6 separate regions of the Homo sapiens genome follow, and regions 1, 2, 3, 4 and 6 are each linked to region 5. Evidence: promoter capture Hi-C in human tissues and cell types (Jung and others, 2019). All regions are on one chromosome and are shown on one strand. Each heading gives the region's core, a stretch centred on a gene start or on the middle of the fragment in contact. The rest is flanking DNA. Distances are from core to core; before and after follow the strand shown. Region 1 overlaps NUP188 (nucleoporin 188). Region 2 overlaps MIGA2 (mitoguardin 2). Region 3 holds the start of DOLPP1 (dolichyldiphosphatase 1). Region 4 holds the start of CERCAM (cerebral endothelial cell adhesion molecule). Region 5 holds the start of ZDHHC12 (zDHHC palmitoyltransferase 12). Region 6 has its middle 17 kb from the start of ODF2.

Region 1 (2,715 bases), core at 67-2,566, 260 kb before region 5:
TCGACAGGTCTGTACTGATGACCTTATGGACGAGATCAATGATGGGTTTGACTCGCTGGCAGTGCTGAATCACATCTGAGAAGAAAGACAGCCTGTGACCTCACGGCAAACAACCCCTTTAAGATCACTGAACAGTCTCTGAGACCCAGATACACAAATCAGACAAATCACAATCTTGATGGTTCTAAATTTTATGTAGATATTCTATTTTCTAAATCCTCCAAGCATATCCACTTTTCCTCCTCGTAGGTGATGTTTCCGAAAGCTGACCTTACCTGCAGTTGAAACAACATGAAGCAACATTTCAATCTCGCAGGTAAAGAGGGTCCAGCTGCTATAGGAGTATTCCCAGCGTACCAGGTATGCCCTATCATCCAACATTACTTGGCCCACAGTGCCTTGAGGTATGCGAAGGTTGGTTTGACCCCCTGAGAGAGAAAGATAAATTAGTCTAATATCTGAGGATAAATAAAAAATGTAACTCCTCTACCAGACATCAATATTTTAAACACACAGAGATACACAAACTCACAGACATTTTTTTTTTTTGAGACAGAGTCTCCCTCTTGCCCAGGCTGGAGTGCAGTGGCGCGATCTCGGCTCGCTGCAACCTCCACCTCCTGGGTTCAAGTGATTCTCGTGCTTCAGCCTCCCAAGTAGCTGGGACTACAGGTGCGCACCACCACTCCTGGCTAATTTTTGTATTTTTAGTAGAGATGGGGTTTTCCATGTTGACCAGGCTGGTCTTGAGCTCCTGGCTTCAAGTGATTTGCCTGTCTTGGCCTCCCAAAGTTCTGGGATTCACAGGCTTTCTTCTTAGTAGCTAACATTCCTAAAGCTTTTTCAACTAAAATACACAAAAAAGTTCTTGTCATGTAGACAAGTGTCTTTTTTTTTTTGAGATGGAGTTTTGCTCTTGCTGCCCAGGCTGGAGTGCAATGGCGCGATCTCAACTCACTGCAACCTCTGCCTCCCAAGTTCAAACGATTCTCCTGTCTTAGCCTCCCGAGTAGCTGGGATTACAGGCATGCACCACCACGCCCGACTAATTTTATATTTTTAGTAGAGACGGGGTTTCTCCATGTTGGTCAGGCTGGTCTCGAACTCCCGACCTCACGTGATCCGCCCACCTTGGCCTGTAATCCCAGTGTTGGGATTACAGGCGTGAGCCACTACACCTGGCCGACAAGTGACTCTTTCTATATGTCTGAAAATCACTTGAGTGCAAAGAACAGTTTTCCATTCAAATGATGATAACAACAGTACCTCATAGGACTGTTAGTGCCTAGATGACTGGAGAAGTCAGTGGTGATGATGCCAGGATTAAAACGGTGAGGCTATTCCCTGTATATTTTCCTCTTTGAGCACCTGGTACAGATGTGAGCCTCAGAGTGTAACTGCCTGGATGCATTGGCTCACGTCTATAATCCCAGTGCTTTGGGAGGCTAAGGTGGGAGAATCACTTGAGCCCAAGAATTTGAGGCTGCAGTGAGCTATGATCTTGCCACTGCACTCCAGCTTGGGTGACAGAGCAAGACATCAAAAAAAAAAAAAGCTGTCATAAAAGGGGGATCTCTTTATCTCACCAAGGGGATAAAGGAGTTTGGGTGTTTGTCTCCGCCAAAGAGTTCCATCTTCATGGGAGATCACATCATGAGGCTTGTGTTTATAAAGTTCATTGTAGAAAGACATCTTATCCAAGAAGCTATACACCTGCCAAAACAGAAAAAACCATCACACATTTCCCTCCAGGATAAGCAAGGAGAGGTCCCACAGTCTGCTCTTTCAACCAGACTCTCAAACTTCTTGCAAGCCCACCACTGTGACTGTTCTTGGAACTGCCTTCTGCGCCCCTCGCCAAATCTTCACTGGGCTTTAACACTCAACTCAAGTCCCCATCACTCCACAAGGGCAGTTATCTCTCCTGAACAGTATGGTCTTTATTGCTCAAATGACATTTACTCTGTACCACCTGGCTCTTAGCTATTTATTTCTTATATCTAGTAACTTCCAACTAGATATTAAGGAACTTTATACTTAGTCTTAGTCCCACAGTATCTACAATAGGTACTTAATGAAAAGATTATTTAATTTTTTAGAATTGAGGTGCTATCTTTGGTATCTTTCATTCACCTTCAGACAAACTTTTGTCATGGCAGTAGAACTGCAATGTGGAAAGCAAAAAAGATTCCTAATAAAGTCTCCATAAAGAATCTCCCATTCTCTTTACTTATCTGACTAAGCAACTTACCTTTTTGGCTGTGGACTTCCCTGATACCAGGGCTCGGAGCAGTTGCAGGAGTGGGGAGAGAAGGTGGGGAAACATTCCACACACACTGTCCAGAATGATCCCAAGGCCAGAAGTTGGCTCCTGTGGTGGAAGGGGACAAATCACTGATCTTCACATTATCCACAAATTAACATCTCTCCAAATTTCCCAGCAATCATGAGAAAATTTAGAATTAATCCTTCCTTTTAGACAGATATCATCCCTCCTTAATAATTTAAGACTTTCATATTTCCACTGAAAAAGGATATAAAATAATTGATTTAGTGAGGGACCTAAAAAAAGATTACTATTCTATCCAGTGACCTCTTCCCAGCCATCCTTTCTATGGGAAGACAGTATTGTTCACCTGTGCATTACATGTTTCCACTAAAGTGCAAATTACCCAACTATGTCAGCAGTTGGCTACCACACAGCAACCACAGATC
Region 2 (3,077 bases), core at 485-2,984, 320 kb before region 5:
AGGAGTTCGAGAGCAGCCTGGCCAACGTGGCGAAATCCCGTCTCTACTAAAAATACAAAAATTAGCCAGGCATGGTGGCACGTGCCTGTAGTCCCAGCTTTTCGAGAGGCTGAAGCAGGAGAATCTCTTGAACCTAAGAGGCCGAGGCTGCAATGAACCGAGATTGTGCCACTGCCCTGCAGACTGGGTGACAGAGCAAGACTCCATCTCAAAAAAAAAAAAAAAAAAAAGAGAGAACAGAAGGAGTGTGATCTGTGACTGTGAGCAATCGACTGAGTGAACTCACTACCTTCCAACCAGCTGAATGATTCCTAACTATGGTGGTGGTCGGATGACTCTATGTGTCAAAGACACAGAATAGTATGCTAAAAAGTACGAATCTTACTGCATGCAAATTAACCCTCAAATTTTTTTTTTTTTTGAGACGGAGTCTCGCTCTGTCACCCAGGCTGGAGTGCAGTGGCGCAATCTCGGCTCACTGCAAGCTCCGCCTCCTGGGTTCACGCCATTCTCCTGCCTCAGCCTCCTGAGTAGCTGGGATTACAGGTGCCCGTCACCATGCCCGGCTAATTTTTTGTATTTTTAGTAGAGACGGGGTTTCACCGTGTTATTCAGGATGGCCTCGATCTCCTAACCTTGTGATCTGCCCGCCTCGGCTTCCCAAGGAGCTGGGATTACAGGCGTGAGCCACCGCGCCCGGCCTAAACCTCAATTTTTAAGAGAGAAGGGAATGGGAGGAATACTGCATCATTCAAGAACCACATGGCTCTTCCTGCTCCTCAGCCTGGGGAACATCCCTCTCTGGACCCAGGAGCCACATCCCCGACCCCCTCTGACCAAGGTGCTCCCAAAGGGTCCTCAGCTAATGAGAACAACCAAAACCACCTCCACCAATGGAGCATGCGCATCCAACCACATCACCCTCCAGTACAGTGACTGGAGGGAGGGACGCTACTGTCATCCCGCTCACAGATCAGGAGACCTTGGCTCTGAGACAGGAAGACACTGGCCCAATATCCCCAAGTAGAGAGTGACCCAGCTGGGATATGACCCCAGGATGTGACCTCAGGTCAGGCCTATGCCCACCACCTCACACCTACCTTTCTTCACTGAAGGGACCTTCCTGGCCAAGAGGATAGGGAGGGGCACCGTGCCCAGCTGCTCCCCTCCCATCTCGGGACCAACCTGCTTCTTCCTCCTCCGTCGCCTCTTCAGCTGGTGGGCAGCCAGGGCCAGGGCCACAGTCCCCAGGGCCGTGGCAAAGAGGACTTTCCGCAGGCCTGGCGTCAACCGTAGCTGGGAGAATGCAGACTGCAGGGAAGAGGAGACGCTGCCGGTTACACCTCCCTGGGGAAGGTCCAAGGCAGCAGGACCGCCCCAGAGCACCTCAGGGACGGGACACACACCGGCTCTCCGGCACATCTGCCGACCAGATGAGAGACTGAGAGGCAGCCACCCTAGACGGGGAAGTTGACCAGCCTCCCTGAAACACAGGCCACAAAAACATAAAGATGGCAAGATGCCAGTGCCGAGAAGGTGAGGTCTAGGGGCCAGCACCCTCAGTCATGAGCACACAAGCCGCAGTGAACAAGCACCAGCTGTGCCCGGCACTGCACTAGGACCTAGCCTGGGGTACCCATCTGAGTCCCTGTCATTTCCAGACGAGGAACCTGAGGTTCACCCACATGAAGACATATACTCAAGGTGACAGAGGCAGACATGAAACCCAGATCTGCTGACCCCCATTTCTCAGTGATGCCTCAAAGATGATGACACTCACTCACCTGCCACCCCATCTGAACAATTCCTACTGCTGCACCTCACCCTCTGCCCCCCAGGCCTGGGAGCCCCTCAGATGGGACTGTACCCCACAAGGCAGATCTTCGGTCAAGATCCCAGTCAGCCACAAACATGTGAGTTGTCAGGGAGGGCACTGACCCCTTTTACAGACTGAGTAACTGAGGTCAAGAGTTCATATAGGACCAGGTGCAGTGGCTCATGCCTATAAACCCAGCACTTTAGGAGGCCAAGGTAGGTGGATGGCTTGAGCCCAAGAGTTCAAGACCAGCCTGGGCAAAATGGCAAGGCCCTATTTCTATTACGAAAAACTTTTTTTTTTTTGAGACGGAGTCTTACCCTGTTGCCCAGGCTGGAGTGCAGTGGTGCGATCTCGACTCACTGCAACCTCCGCTTCCTGGGTTCAAGTGATCCTCCCGCCTCAGCCTCCCAAGTAGCTGGGATTACAGGCACCTGCCACCATGCCCAGCTAATTTTTTTTTTTTTGAGGCGGAGTCTCGCTCTGTCGCCCAGGCTGGAGTGTAGTGGCATGATCTCAGCTCATTGCAACCTCCGCCTCCTGGGTTCAAGCAATTCTGTCTCAGCCTCCCAAGTAGCTGGGACTACAGGTGCACACCACCATGCTTGGCTAATTTTTGTACTTTTGGTAGAGATAGCGTTTCACCATATTGGTCAGGCTGGTCTTGAACTCCTGACTTCAGGTGATCCACCTGCTTCAGCTTCCCAGAGTGCTGGGATTACAGGCATGAGCCACTGTGCCCAGCCTACCCGCCTAATTTTTGTATTTTTAGTAGAGACAGGGTTTCACCATGTTGGCCAGGCTGGTCTTGAACTCCTGACCTCAGGTGATCCGCCCGTCCCGGCCTCCCAAAGTGCTGGGATTACAGGCGTGAGCCATCGCACCCGGCCAATACAATTTTTTTAATTAATTAAAAAAAAAAGAGTTCGTATAGTCTCAGGCTAAAGAACAGGCCTGAAGCCTCAGACAACAAACCCAGTCCAAAGAGGAGACACCAGAGGTTTGGCAAAGCAAGAACGAGGGCTCAGCGTTCCTGGACACGGAGGAGCCCTTGGCTGAGCATGGAAGTGTTTCATAGACCAGAGGTACAACCCACCCTGATCCTTACCTGCCCAAACGTCGTGTACAGGAACACGGGGATCTCGGCCACCGTCATGGCCAGGGCCTGGATCATAGACGTGCCCTCGGCCCTCCGGAACGCCATGGCAGGGCCAATGCCCCAGGCAAAGTCCTCAGGGCCAAGAGCTTCCAAGGAGAACGT
Region 3 (2,766 bases), core at 76-2,575, 360 kb before region 5:
GGCCTGTTAAGCATTCTAAAAACCAGAGCTAGCCCAGGGCCTAGCACTCAGAAGTGTTCAGTGGATATTGACTGAATGAATGAATGGATGAATGAATGGTAGACAGGCAGGCAGGCAGGGCCCAGGACCTGGCAGGGCCATACCACCCCCAGTACAACCCAGAACACCAGCGTCAACGTTCTTTGGCATTCAGTCCTGGTGCCCTCAGCGGACCCAGGTTCTCACATCTCGCAAGACAGCAGCATGAGCAGGCCCTTCCCAGGCAACCAGGGCTCAATGAGGGGCTCCAGCCTTCCCTGGCACTCAACCATCTTACCCAGGGAGGGTCTTGCAAGGTGGGATAACATTAACTGCAGGTATTTACTGAACGCTTACTGCATGCCGGGCACTGTACTCAGCCCTTCTTGTGCCTCCTGCTATTTGATGCTCATACCATCACCAGAAGGTAAGCACTGTAATCAGTCCCACTTTAGAGATGAATTAACTTAAGCAGAGGCAGGCACCTGCACAAGGCCTCAGCCTCAACTGGAGCCCAGATGGGTCTGACCCCCACGCCCAGGCTCTGCGCCACTCTTACTAGACAGCCTCCAGAACGCCGCTAATGGACCTCTCAACTGGAAAGCCCTGCACTTCGAGAGGTGTGTCTGATGGGAAGCAACAGAAGTCAAGTTCCCGGAGGCTGCCCGCCCCCTCATCGGGTCCTCTCTGTTGTGGAATCGTGCCCTGCTCAGGGCGTGGCACCACAAGTACTCAAAAGCCTGGCTTCGGCTTGCACACTCCCAGCAACGGGGAGCTCTTTCTCTTACAAGCAGCCCAAAGCACTGTTCGAAGGAAACAAGACACTCCCTGCACGCTGGAACAGGAGTGCGGCCTCTCTGGGACAGGGGAGGGCGGGGAAGAAGGGCCAAGGTCCAGGCCAGGGATCTTTTCTCGCCTCACACAGATCCTCAACCCATTTCAGCCCACCGGCGCCCCGGGACCCGGGGGAGCGCCCTGGCCGCGCAGCCGCAGAGTGCGCGAGCGAGCGCCTCACAATTTCGCCCAGCTCATCCTCGCACCACTGCGCCTGCGCGGCGCGCGCGCCGGCCGAGCCCCTCCGTGGTTCACTATTTGACAGTTCCCACCCCGGTCCCCCGGCGCCCCCTCCGCGGGCTCGAGCAGGCCGGAGCGCCCGGGACTGAGAGGCCGTCCCTGGGAAGGCGTCCTTGGAGCCGGGACCGCCTTTTACCTGCAGGATATTCGACGTGGGTGAGGGTCACCGGCCGCCATGAAGCGGGGAGCGAGCACTGTCCGTCCGCTGCCATCTTACCCGGAGACCGGGCTTCTTCGAGCAGCCAATGGGGAGCCAGGGGGGCGGTGGTCCTGACCTATCACGCCGGGGAGGCGCCGTGCACCCAATCGGAGGCCAATATAGGTAGCGGCGCAGCCATTCAGCGTGCAGGCCGTGGGGGCTGGCCCGAGCGGCGAATCAGAGAGCGGGGCCCCTGGGAGCCAACGAGCCGCCCCAGCTGGCGCCCAATCTGGGGCGAGCGCAGGTAGGCATCTGGCCAATCAGAGAAGGGGAGGGTTCCAGCACCGAACAGGGAGCATAACAGCCAATCAGAAGGTGAGGCTGCCTCAGCTTGTGGGCAGGGCGGGCCAATCAGGCGCTGGCTTTGGGGGCGTGTTGAACTTTGGTGGGAGCTTTGGTTCGGCTGGGACCTGCGCCCTGAATGAAGGCTTCCCTGGTACCCCCTGCCGATCCGCGGTCTTGGGGACCTGCGCGTCCGATAGCGCGTGCTCGAAGAGGAGAGGCAACCTCAGCTCCAGGGGGTTTGAACCGACCCACTTTCAGTTACGAGTAAACTGAGACCAGAGAGCAGAGGGGGCTTATTTCCCTCTGCCCCATACTGGCCGGCGAAAGGGCAAGTCACACAGAGCAGGCGACCTTTTTGTCAAAAGTGTGTGGGGCGGGGCGCGCAGTAGGCGCCCTAAACGCTGGACTGAACAGAGAAGCTTAATTGATACTTAAGAGTGGAAGCTTAGCTACAGTTAAGGACTCCTTCCTCCTTTCATTCATTTAATAAAGATTTATTGATTCAGTCACGTCTATGCTACTTAATGAGGCGTCTTGGGAGCATTTCAAACAAGAAGTCGGTTTTCCACCTACCCCTCAGTTTTCCCAAGACATTCCTGCGTGAACAGCCACACCTTCCCACCCGCCTTCACCTCTCCTACCCGACTCTGTCTCTGGCTGGATTGGATTACAGTGCAGGTAAGGTGGGCTGGGAGGGCTCAGCCTCTTGTCTCCTGCCGCTAGCATGTGCTGTTTTTGTCTGTTTGTTTGTTTTTTGAGACAGGGTCTTGCTCTGAGGCCCAGGCTGGAGTGCAGTGGAACGATCTTGCTCAGCCTCCTGGGTCCAAGTGATTCTCCTGTCTCAGCCTCCCGAGTAGCTGTGACTACAGGCGCGCACCACCGCATCCGGCTAATTTTTGCATTTTTAGTAGAGACCGGGTCTTACCATGTTGGGCAGGCTGGTCTCGAACTCCTGGCCTCAGGTGATCCACCTGCCTCGGCTCCCAAAATGCTGAGATTACAAGCGTGAGCCGCCATGCCCAGCTAATTTTTTTTTTTTTTTTTTGAGACGGAGTCTCGCTCTGTTGCCCAGGCTGGAGTGCAGTGGCACGCCCGGCTAATTTTCGTACTTTTCGTAGAGACGGGGTTTCACCGTGTTGGTCAGGATGGTCTTGATCTCCTGACCTCGTGATCCGCCCACCTCGGCCTCC
Region 4 (2,968 bases), core at 447-2,946, 300 kb after region 5:
TCTGTCGCCCAGGCTGTAGTGCAGTGGTATGATCTCGACTCACTGCAACCTCCGCCTCCCGGGTTCAAGTGATTCTCCTGCCTCAGCCTCCTGAGTACCTGGGATTACAGGTGTGCACCACCATGCCCGGCTAATTTTTGTTTGTTTAGTAGAGATGGGGTTTCACCATGTTAGCCAGGCTGGTCTTGAACTCCTCACCTCAGGTGATCTGCCCACTTCGGCCTCCCAAAGTGCTGAAATTACAGGCGTGAGCCACCACACCTGGCCAACGAATGCATTTTGAAAGATGAAAAGTACCTCGACTTTAAGGATCACACCTGGTGCATTCCCTGGTTACCTTCGTTAGGTGGGCAGATACCTACCTATGTGACCTGTGGCTGTGTGACCACAGGCCAGCCCCTGTCCCTCTCTGAATGGGGACTAGACAGAAGAGCTGCTGCTTTCCTCCACCCCCAGGTTGTAATAAGGACCAAACCATGCTCTAAGCGTCCCTAAGAATGCAGATGGGTCCAAGCTCTGCTGTCATGGGGCACAGCCTCCCCTCTCCTGGGGAAGGGGCCCCCATAACAGAGGTGGGGGTTTAGCCAAGTGCCCAGGTTTTGGGTGATGCTGCCCCTTTAAGCCAATTCCCCAGAAATGAAGACTACGTGTCAAGTCTTACAGGGGTGGGAACTAACAAACTCCCAAACTGTGGTAATTGTGGGCGGCCTCCCCAGGCCAGGGCTCCACCCCCCCAGCCCAACTGTGGTGTGTTGAAGAGGGTGGCTTGTCATTTTTCTCAGTTTACCCCCAACCTCAGCCAGGGACTCCTCCCTGTTCTGGTGTCTACAGACCAGGGGTTGTGGCCTTCGATCCCAGTGCCCTGGGGGTACAGAGATGCCAGAGGGGAGAGGCTCCAGGAAGGGGGACTGCCCTTGGCTGACAGGATCCCGCCCCTCTACCAAGATCTACCAAGAGAGCTGGCCCCAGCACGGGGGCGGTGGGGGGGCCGGTCTGACTCCCCTGCACAGCCCGGAGCCCAGTGCTGATGGCACCCCCAACCTGTGCCCGGAAGCCTCCAGCGTGGTCGATCCCTGCCACGTTGGGCCCCAGTGGACTTCAGAGGTTCCTGTCTGCTCCTCTTCAAATCCAGCCAACCACAGGTCCCACTGGGGTTGAGCTGGGCCCTGAAGGCTGGGGTGAAAAGGGCTGGCTGGGCCCAACCTACACCCAGGGAAGGCCCCAAGAGGAAGGAGTAGGGGACCAGAAGGAGGGGTGGGTGTCCCGCGTCGGCCTGTGGCCTCAGAGGTCTGTCGTCTCCCAGCAGGGGGCTCGGGGTCCTCTCTGGCGGCTCGGGCTGGCAGGGCCGTCTGTGAGGGGAGGGGCCTGTCTAGGTGGTGTCTGGGCAGGGAGCGAGCAGACAGGGCCGCCGGGGGCGGGGGCCATCTGCGAAGCTGGGGGTTAGGTGCCCACTCGGTGCCAATGCCCGGGTCTCTCACCAGAGGGCCATCCTGGCCCGGGGGTAGTCCAGCCGCTCCAGAGCGCCCAGGTAGTGGGGCAGCGAGTGTTCGGCATTGCGGGCCAGGATGGCAAGGACCACGGCGGGCAGCGGCGACTCCGCAACGCCCGCAGCCTCCAGCCACGGCCCCAGCAGGAGCAGCAGCTGGAGCAGCGGCGCGGCGCGGGCAGCGCGCATGGCGGGCGCTTGGGCGGCTGCAGCGGCCCCCGGAGCTCTCGGGCCGGCCGAGGGGAGGGGGCGGGGCCTGGGGCCCGGGCGGGGCCGAGGCAGACCCGGAGAGGGCGGGGCAGTGCACCCTCAGAGTGGGATCCTGCTCCCCACCCCTGTGCGTGGATGCTCAAGTTTTCTCTCCTTGGCCCGGGGCACCGGAGGGCCAGGGCCCGGGGACCCGCGCCAGCCGCGACCCTGGAGCAGCCCCGCCCGGCTGGACCCCGGAGGGGCGACGGCGGAGGGGCCGGAGGACCGGACAGGGGAGGGGTGCTAGGACGAGTGCGTCGGGGCCGGCCGGGCGTCCGAGAACAGTAGGGGCTCATGGAACCCCTGGGCGTTGAACCCCCGGAATCCGGATTCCCCGGCCCACGCAGCCGACTCTTCGACCTGAGCCGCAGACCCAGAGGGGCGGCGCCCACTCGGCCACCACCTCCCGGGCTTCCCCGGCTCCCGCCCCATCCTCCGCCCCGGGCGCCCTCTGGCGGCCCTGGCGCTAGCTCCGCAGACCAGCCGGGCCACGCGTGGGCCGGAGACCCAGCGTGGGGGGCGCAGAGGGAGTCCCCCTGAGCTGGGCGCGTCCTCCCGCGGCGGTCCGCTCCTTAAGTCCCCTGTGCGTCACCTCCTTGCGTCGGTCGCCAGCACCCGCATTGCTTCGGCCCTTTAAGAGAGCACAGCCAGGCCGGGCGTGGTAGCTCACGCCTGTAATCCCGGCACTTTGGGAGACCGAGGCGGGAGGATCACCTGAGATCAGTTCAAGACCAGCCTGGCCAAGATGGTGAAATCCCATCTGTACTAAAAATACAAAAATTAGCCGGGCGTCGTGGCGGGTGCCTGTACTCCCAGCTACTTGGGAGGCTGAGGCAGGAGAATCGCTTGAACCCGGGAGGCGGAGGTTGCAGTGAGCCGAGATCGCGCCACTGCACTACAGCCTGGATGACAGACCGAGACTCCGTCTCAAAAAGAAAAAAAAAAAAAGAGCACAGCCCTCACAGCCCTCTCTTGGTCTGAGTGTAGAACTAGGGGACACCACGGAGCTGCTCACTGCGACCCGACCCGTCCGTCCTCCAAAGCAGGGGATGTTGGCTCCCCTGGAGCACCGCCGGGGTCCTTAGGACCCTGCTGGGAGGGAAAGAACTCTGCAGCCTCTCGGGAGAGGAGCAGAAAAGGGAGCGGCCTGGCGGCACCACAGATGGGATCGAACTGGGTGTCTGTCACCAACCTCAGACAGGTCCCTTTCCCTCAGGAGCCTCTCGGGTAAAA
Region 5 (3,088 bases), core at 232-2,731:
GCAGGAGAATCACTTGAACTTGGGAGGTGGAGGTTGCAGTGAGCCCAGATCGCGCCACTGCACTCCAGCCTAGGCAACAGAGTGAGGCTCTGTCTCAAAAAAAAAAAAAAAAAAAAGGTGGGCATTCATTGACTCTTGCAACCAGGGGATGCAGAGTCAGTATCAGCTTCAGGGACAGCCGGATCTAGAGGGCTCAGACAATGTTGTTCAGACCATCTCTTGCTCCCTCCTTTAGTGCTGCTTATCCATCTCTATGTGTCTTTATAAGTTGGTCTCATTTTCTCCAGCCACAGACAGGGTAAGCCCTCTCCGCCCAGCGTAAAGACGGCTCCCAGTTGCCTTATATCCCATTCCTTAGGCTTGAGATCCAAAAGAATGCTCCTTCCTCTCAGCATCTAGACAGTAATCTCATGGAAGGCCTGTGATTGGTTCTGCAGAGTCGAAAGCCCACAGCCTGCCGCTCGCCATCCTATGGGGTGAGGGGCAGTCCCTCCAATCACATGGGATGGGAAGTCGATTCCCCAACCAAAAAAAGGATGTTGAGCTGAGAAAAACAACAGATGTCAGAGGAGTATCCTGGAGGAGCTGGGATGGGGCCAATCAGAGGGAGGCGGAGGAGGATGCTGGTATCAGTGGGAGGTGCTGTGGAAAGGCGGGGCTGAGTGGAGAAGGCCCTGGGGACACAGGGAAGGAGGACAGCCTGCAGCCTCCGGTGAGGAAAGTCCGCCTGTAGGTGGTGGCTCACAGCAGGAGAGGCAAGACAGTCCCGTGCTAGACAAGGCGCTTCCATTATTTAATCCTCCCAAACACCTTAGGAGGAAGACACTATTGTAATCCCCCTTATAGAGACAGAAAACAGCTCAGAGGGGCTCAGTAACTCGCCCAGGGTCACACAGGTAGGAAGGGGCAGTGCTGGGATTTCTGACTCCCGCCTAAGTTGGATCACCCATAGTCAGAATGTGCACCACGTACCTCCACTTTTCTCTCGTCCGTTTGCAATATCTGAGAATACATAGCAAGGAGGTAAAGCTGTCACCACAGAGCAACCTTGGGCGAGCCTTGGCCCTCTCGAGACTTTAGTCATCACATCTTTGAAATGGGTACAATTTTGCCTCCCGGACTCACAGCAAGCCGCTGGATCTTCGAAGCGCCCAGGGAGCTACGCGCATGCGCGAGGCTGCGAGGGCGGGCACAGGGGAACGCGGGGGAGGGCACAGCGGAGCGCGGGGGAGGTGCGCGCGCGCTCCGGCGCTTTCAAAAGTTACCTGGCGGGTGGGGCTGGAGTTGAGGGAGTTACCAGCTGCGCGCGCGCCGGCCCCACCCTCAGCCTCTTCAGGCACCTGTTGGCTTGAGGGTCCATTCGGCCGCAGATGCCATCCAATAGGCAGCCTCCCTGACCCAGTCCGGCCCCGCCCAACGCCTAGATCCACCAGTCCCCGGGCGGCGGCGTTCCCCTCCCTCGGAGGGCCCGCCCCTCTGGGCGCTTCTTCCGGGTGGGGCCCCGGGCCGAGGCGATGGCGCCCTGGGCGCTCCTCAGCCCTGGGGTCCTGGTGCGGACCGGGCACACCGTGCTGACCTGGGGAATCACGCTGGTGCTCTTCCTGCACGATACCGGTGAGCCGGACCCCGAGCGACCCCGGACCCACCCGATCCCGCGTACTTCCCCAGACGTTCTGGTCACACTGGGTCTCCCGCCTAATCCCTGGAGATCCTGGGATTGGCCCGATCTCCACCAGCTCCTGAAGCCCTCTCCCCATCTATCATTCCAAGAGCCACCTGCTCTCTGTCTGATACCCCGTTGATCCCTAATTAATCCCAGCATCTTCCTGATCATTGCCAAATGCCCTGTCCATCCCAGGACCCAGCCGGTGCCCACCAGATCCAAGGACCGACTTGAGCCCCATGTCCCCTGATCCTGGGACCCACATGATCCTTCCCAGGAACTGACCCCAAATCTTCCTATCCATACGATTAGGAGGCTCAACTAGATGCAAAGATTGGCATTCTGCCCACACCCACACCCCCCACACCCCCATGGCCACTAGCTGCCCAAGTCCAGGCAAACCCTCAGGCCAGAGAACACTCCATGGGGTGCGGCCTGTCTCCCATCTTCCCACAGATTCACCCACCCACCCACCTCCATTTCCCTCATTCCTCTTAGTAGCCCCCTACCCAGCGCCTCACCTGCCACAGGCAGCCTCCCCCACTGTCCCCCACAGCAGACCCCAGCCCTCCTTCCATGGCGGTCCAGCCTCAGTTTCTGGACTGGGGCCCCTTCTGGCTTTCCTCCCAAGACAGACCTCCTCCACCACCTTCACCCTTTAGCCTAAAAACTTGCTCAGGTCTCCGTATCAGAAAACCCCCCTCAAAACCCACCCTTTCTTCTCTGCTCCCCCTTACAACCAAGGGACACAGGATTTGTCTACACTCTGCTGTCTGGTGGTCTCATGCCCCCTCACTCCTTGCCCTGCACCCTACCTCCCCAAAATCCTGTCACCTCCCTGGGCTGAAGCCTGCTGGACCCTTCCGTATGCCCCTCTGCAGCATCTGAGCCTGCCAGCTGCACCCTTCCCACTGTATCTCTCTCAGGCATTTCAGACCTAACCAGTCTCTCACCATTGCAGAGCCAGAGACGCTGGACCCCTCTTCCCTCTCTCCCACATCCAGTCAGGTCTGGCTCCCTTGACCCAGCAGCCCCCTGTCCATTCCTTCCTCCCTCACTTCCTGCCAGGCCTTTGTAGCGACTCTCTTCTTCCTCCTGGCCAGATTCTCTGCCCCCAGGCTTCCCCTGATCCATTTCTTTAGCAATGAGGTTTTCCAAAACAGATCTGGCTCTATAACCTTCCATGGTTCCCTCTGACCCTCCAGATAAAAGTGCAGATGAACTGCTGGCCACACACAGCCACTCATGGAACCAACATCTCCAGGCCTTTGCTCAGCCAGGAACACACTTCCCCACCTCCAACTGCACCCCAACCCCACCCACTCCTGTTCTACCCGGCCCAGCCTCACTGTGCTCTCCGGCCTCTCCAGAGCTGCGGCAATGGGAGGAGCAGGGGGAGCTGCTCCTGCCCCTCACCTTCCTGCT
Region 6 (2,900 bases), core at 157-2,656, 280 kb after region 5:
CATAAGCCACCACGCCCAGCCATGCTTGAATTATTACAGTGGGTTCCTAACTGGTCTCACTGTTTCTTCCATGGACCTGCCTACAGTTTATTCTCAGCACAGTAGCCGGTGTGATCTTATAACACTACATGAGATCATGCCACATCTCTGCCAGGGTGATCATGTAAAAATGTAAGTTAGATGGTTACTTCTTTGCCTCCATCTCTCTGGGGGCTCCATCTCAGAGTAAAAGCCAAAATGGCCTTCATGGCCATCCCTGCTCTGGCCCCAGCCTTGGCTCTATCAACTCTAGACACTGGTCCTCCTCTCTTCTGCACTGTCAGTCCTGCTTCTGCCTCAGGACCTTTGCATATGCTGTTCCTTCTGCTTGGAAGCTCTTCCTTTTGCTATCCCCAAGGCTCAGCCCCTCCCCTCCTTAAAGTCTTTTTTTTTTTTTTTTTTGTCTATTTTTTTTTTTTTTTTGAGACGGAGTCTCACTCTGTCACCCAGGCTGGAGTGCAGTGGTTTGATCTCGGCTCACTGCAACCTCTGCCTCCCAGGTTCAAGCAATTCTCTTCCTCAGCCTCCCACGTAGCTGGGACTACAGGCGCCCACCACCACACCTGGCTAATTTTTGTATTTTTAGTAGAGACGGGGTTTCACCCTCTTGGCCAGGCTGGTCTTGAACTCCTGACCTCGTGATCCACCTGCCTCGCCCTCCCAAAATGGTGGGATTACAGGTGTGAGCCACCCTGCCTGGCGAAGTCTTTTGTTTTTGAGATGGAGTCTCACTCTGTCGCCCAAGCTGGAGTGCAGTGGTGCAAGCTCAGCTCACTGCAACCTCCACCTCCCAGGTTCAAGTGATTCTCCTGCTTCAGTCTCCCGAGTAGCTGGCATTACAGGCGCCCGCTAGCACACCTGACTAATTTTTGTATTTTTAATAGAGATGGGATTTCCCTATGTTGGCCAGGCTGGTCTCAAACTCCTGGCCTCCAGTGATCCATCTGCTTAGGCCTTCCAAAGTGCTAGGATTACAGGCATGAGCAACTATGCCTGGCCCACTCCTGCGTCTTTGTTCAGGTGTTAACTTCTCAGATCTTACTTTGTATCTCTCCGCTTCTCATTTTTCTCTATAGCAATTCACACCCTCTGATCTTTCTTTGTTTTTGTCTGCATCCCTCATTAGGATGTCAGTTTTGGCCGGGTGTGGTGACAGAAGGTGATAGAGTGAGACTCCGCCACAAAAAAAAAAGAAAAAAAAGAATGTCAGTTTAATGAGGTCAGGGGTTTTGTCAGTTTCATTCACTGCTGAATCCCCAGGGCCTGACTGCGGCCCATGGGAGGTGCTTAATAAAGGTTAACAAATGAATGAAGGGGACACCTGGAGCCTGGAGAGAAGTGAGTCGCTCAAGGTCATAGCCATCCAGAATGAATGACTTTCATCTTAGAACGAATAAAGCACCGAGTCCACAGCTCCAGCCCAAGGTCCTTCTCACAGCCGTGCCAGGTCCTGGACCTCAACCCCAGGACAGAGCCAAGGGATACCCCAACCTCAGGGAGTGCCTGTCAGGCTCTGCCAGGACTGGAGTGCTCACACAACCAAGTCAGGGGGCCACATGGAAGAGGAGCAGGAACGGTGGAAGCCAAAGCAGCCATGGCCAAGGCCAGGAGCCATCTCCCCTCCCACCCCTCCAGCTGCCTGAGTGCAGGCATGACAGACAGCGGCTGGGCCCAGAAGCCCGACTCTCTGGGGCCAGGGGAGAGGCCTGCAGTTCCCATCAGAAGAGCAGAAGACGCAGAGCTGCTGCGGGTTGCCCCAGCACCAATGGGAGCTTCCCTATGGCCCATGCTTCCTTCCTGGTGTTGGCCCCAACCCAGCAGAGAGCATCCTGGCCAAGTCCAGGCTCTGCCACCTTGCGCCCTCTGGTGGCCACATTGGTTAGTGCCAGAGGGGAACCCAGGATCTCCCCCAGCCCCTCCCAGGCGGTTCCTCTTCCCCTAAGCCAGGGTTTCAGCTGCACAAGAGATGATCCAAAGGGCCGGGGGACATCAGCAGCCCTTGGACTGGCTGGGCCCACCCTGACCAGCAAGGTGAGGCTGGTAATGACTTCGGGGATGACCACATCAGCCCCAACAGGTGAGCACTCACTGTGAGCCGGGCTCAGGCTAGGCCACTCTATACCCAACCAGCCACAATGACCGAAGAGTAGACTAAGGCCCAGGGAAGGGATGGCACCCACCCAAGATCACCCAGCACAGAGGTGATGCTGGATCGGCCTGACTCCTCACCTGTCCTCCCCTCTCTGTCCCTCCAATTGCTCAACCATAGATCAGGAAGCCTCCTCCCAGGCCAGCTGAGATGCAGAGGCTCAGCCATGAGTTAAAAAATATAAAGTAAAAATACAAAAATTAGCTGGGCGTGGTGGCACATGCCTGTAATCCCAGCTACTAGGGAGGCTGAGGAAGGAGAATCGCTTCAACCCAAGAGGCGGAGGCTGCAGTGAGCCGAGATCACACCACTGCACTCCAGCCTGGGTGACAGAGCGAGACTCTGTCTTAAAAACAAACAAATATATATACATGTATATATATGTATGTATACATATATACATGTATATACACGTATGTGTACATATATACACGTATATATACGTGTATATACGTGTGTGTATATACGTGTATATACGTGTGTGTATATACGTGTATATACGTGTGTGTATATACGTGTATATACGTGTGTGTATATACGTGTATATACGTGTGTGTATATACGTGTATATACGTGTGTGTATATACGTGTATATACGTGTATGTGTATATACGTGTATATACGTGTATGTGTATATACGTGTATATACGTGTATGTGTATATACGTGTATATACGTGTATGTGTATATACGTGTATATACACGTATATATG

The links. The method cuts DNA at HindIII sites, captures the fragments that hold promoters and counts their contacts. A contact is called where the count stands out against the background at its distance.
Region 1: a contact is called between a fragment that was not itself captured here and the fragment with the promoter of ZDHHC12 in region 5, in 3 of the 25 tissues and cell types used here (dorsolateral prefrontal cortex, neural progenitor cells and stomach).
Region 2: a fragment that was not itself captured here is called in contact with the fragment with the promoter of ZDHHC12 in region 5 in 1 of the 25 tissues and cell types used here (dorsolateral prefrontal cortex).
Region 3: a contact is called between the fragment with the promoter of DOLPP1 here and the fragment with the promoter of ZDHHC12 in region 5, in 3 of the 25 tissues and cell types used here (lymphoblastoid cells, mesenchymal stem cells and mesendoderm cells).
Region 4: a contact is called between the fragment with the promoter of CERCAM here and the fragment with the promoter of ZDHHC12 in region 5, in 6 of the 25 tissues and cell types used here (adrenal gland, dorsolateral prefrontal cortex, liver and 3 more).
Region 6: a fragment that was not itself captured here is called in contact with the fragment with the promoter of ZDHHC12 in region 5 in 2 of the 25 tissues and cell types used here (dorsolateral prefrontal cortex and spleen).

What each region holds. Positions count from the first base shown.
Region 1 is chr9:128,980,262-128,982,976 of GRCh38, reverse strand. NUP188 (nucleoporin 188) reads right to left here. Exons shown (of 44, transcript NM_015354.3): 14 at 2,252-2,371; 15 at 1,587-1,713; 16 at 276-428; 17 at 1-75. Among named protein-coding and RNA genes, the nearest start is that of NUP188, 34 kb to the right of the region's middle. The HindIII fragment of the contact is 8,140 bases long and covers 1-2,715 here.
Region 2 is chr9:129,040,538-129,043,614 of GRCh38, reverse strand. MIGA2 (mitoguardin 2) reads right to left here. Exons shown (of 16, transcript NM_001329990.2): 2 at 2,925-3,077; 3 at 1,101-1,311. The coding sequence starts at 3,020. Among named protein-coding and RNA genes, the nearest start is that of MIGA2, 5.4 kb to the right of the region's middle. The HindIII fragment of the contact is 5,202 bases long and covers 1-3,077 here.
Region 3 is chr9:129,079,670-129,082,435 of GRCh38, reverse strand. It overlaps DOLPP1 (dolichyldiphosphatase 1), which reads right to left and starts at 1,325. Exons shown (of 8, transcript NM_020438.5): 1 at 1,229-1,325. The coding sequence starts at 1,304. RefSeq lists a silencer at 898-1,627. The HindIII fragment of the contact is 10,069 bases long and covers 1-2,766 here.
Region 4 is chr9:128,419,585-128,422,552 of GRCh38, reverse strand. CERCAM (cerebral endothelial cell adhesion molecule) reads right to left here and starts at 1,696. Exons shown (of 13, transcript NM_016174.5): 1 at 1,479-1,696. The coding sequence starts at 1,675. RefSeq lists an enhancer at 961-1,150 and a silencer at 1,411-2,310. The HindIII fragment of the contact is 34,497 bases long and covers 1-2,968 here.
Region 5 is chr9:128,722,520-128,725,607 of GRCh38, reverse strand. ZDHHC12 (zDHHC palmitoyltransferase 12) reads left to right here and starts at 1,481. Exons shown (of 5, transcript NM_032799.5): 1 at 1,481-1,614; 2 at 3,034-3,088. The coding sequence starts at 1,515. ZDHHC12-DT (ZDHHC12 divergent transcript) reads right to left here and starts at 1,146. Exons shown (of 2, transcript NR_046240.1): 1 at 973-1,146. RefSeq lists a silencer at 1,113-1,592. The HindIII fragment of the contact is 17,684 bases long and covers 1-3,088 here.
Region 6 is chr9:128,437,808-128,440,707 of GRCh38, reverse strand. No RefSeq gene overlaps it. Among named protein-coding and RNA genes, the nearest start is that of ODF2, 17 kb to the left of the region's middle. RefSeq lists a silencer at 1,917-2,090. The HindIII fragment of the contact is 5,750 bases long and covers 1-2,900 here.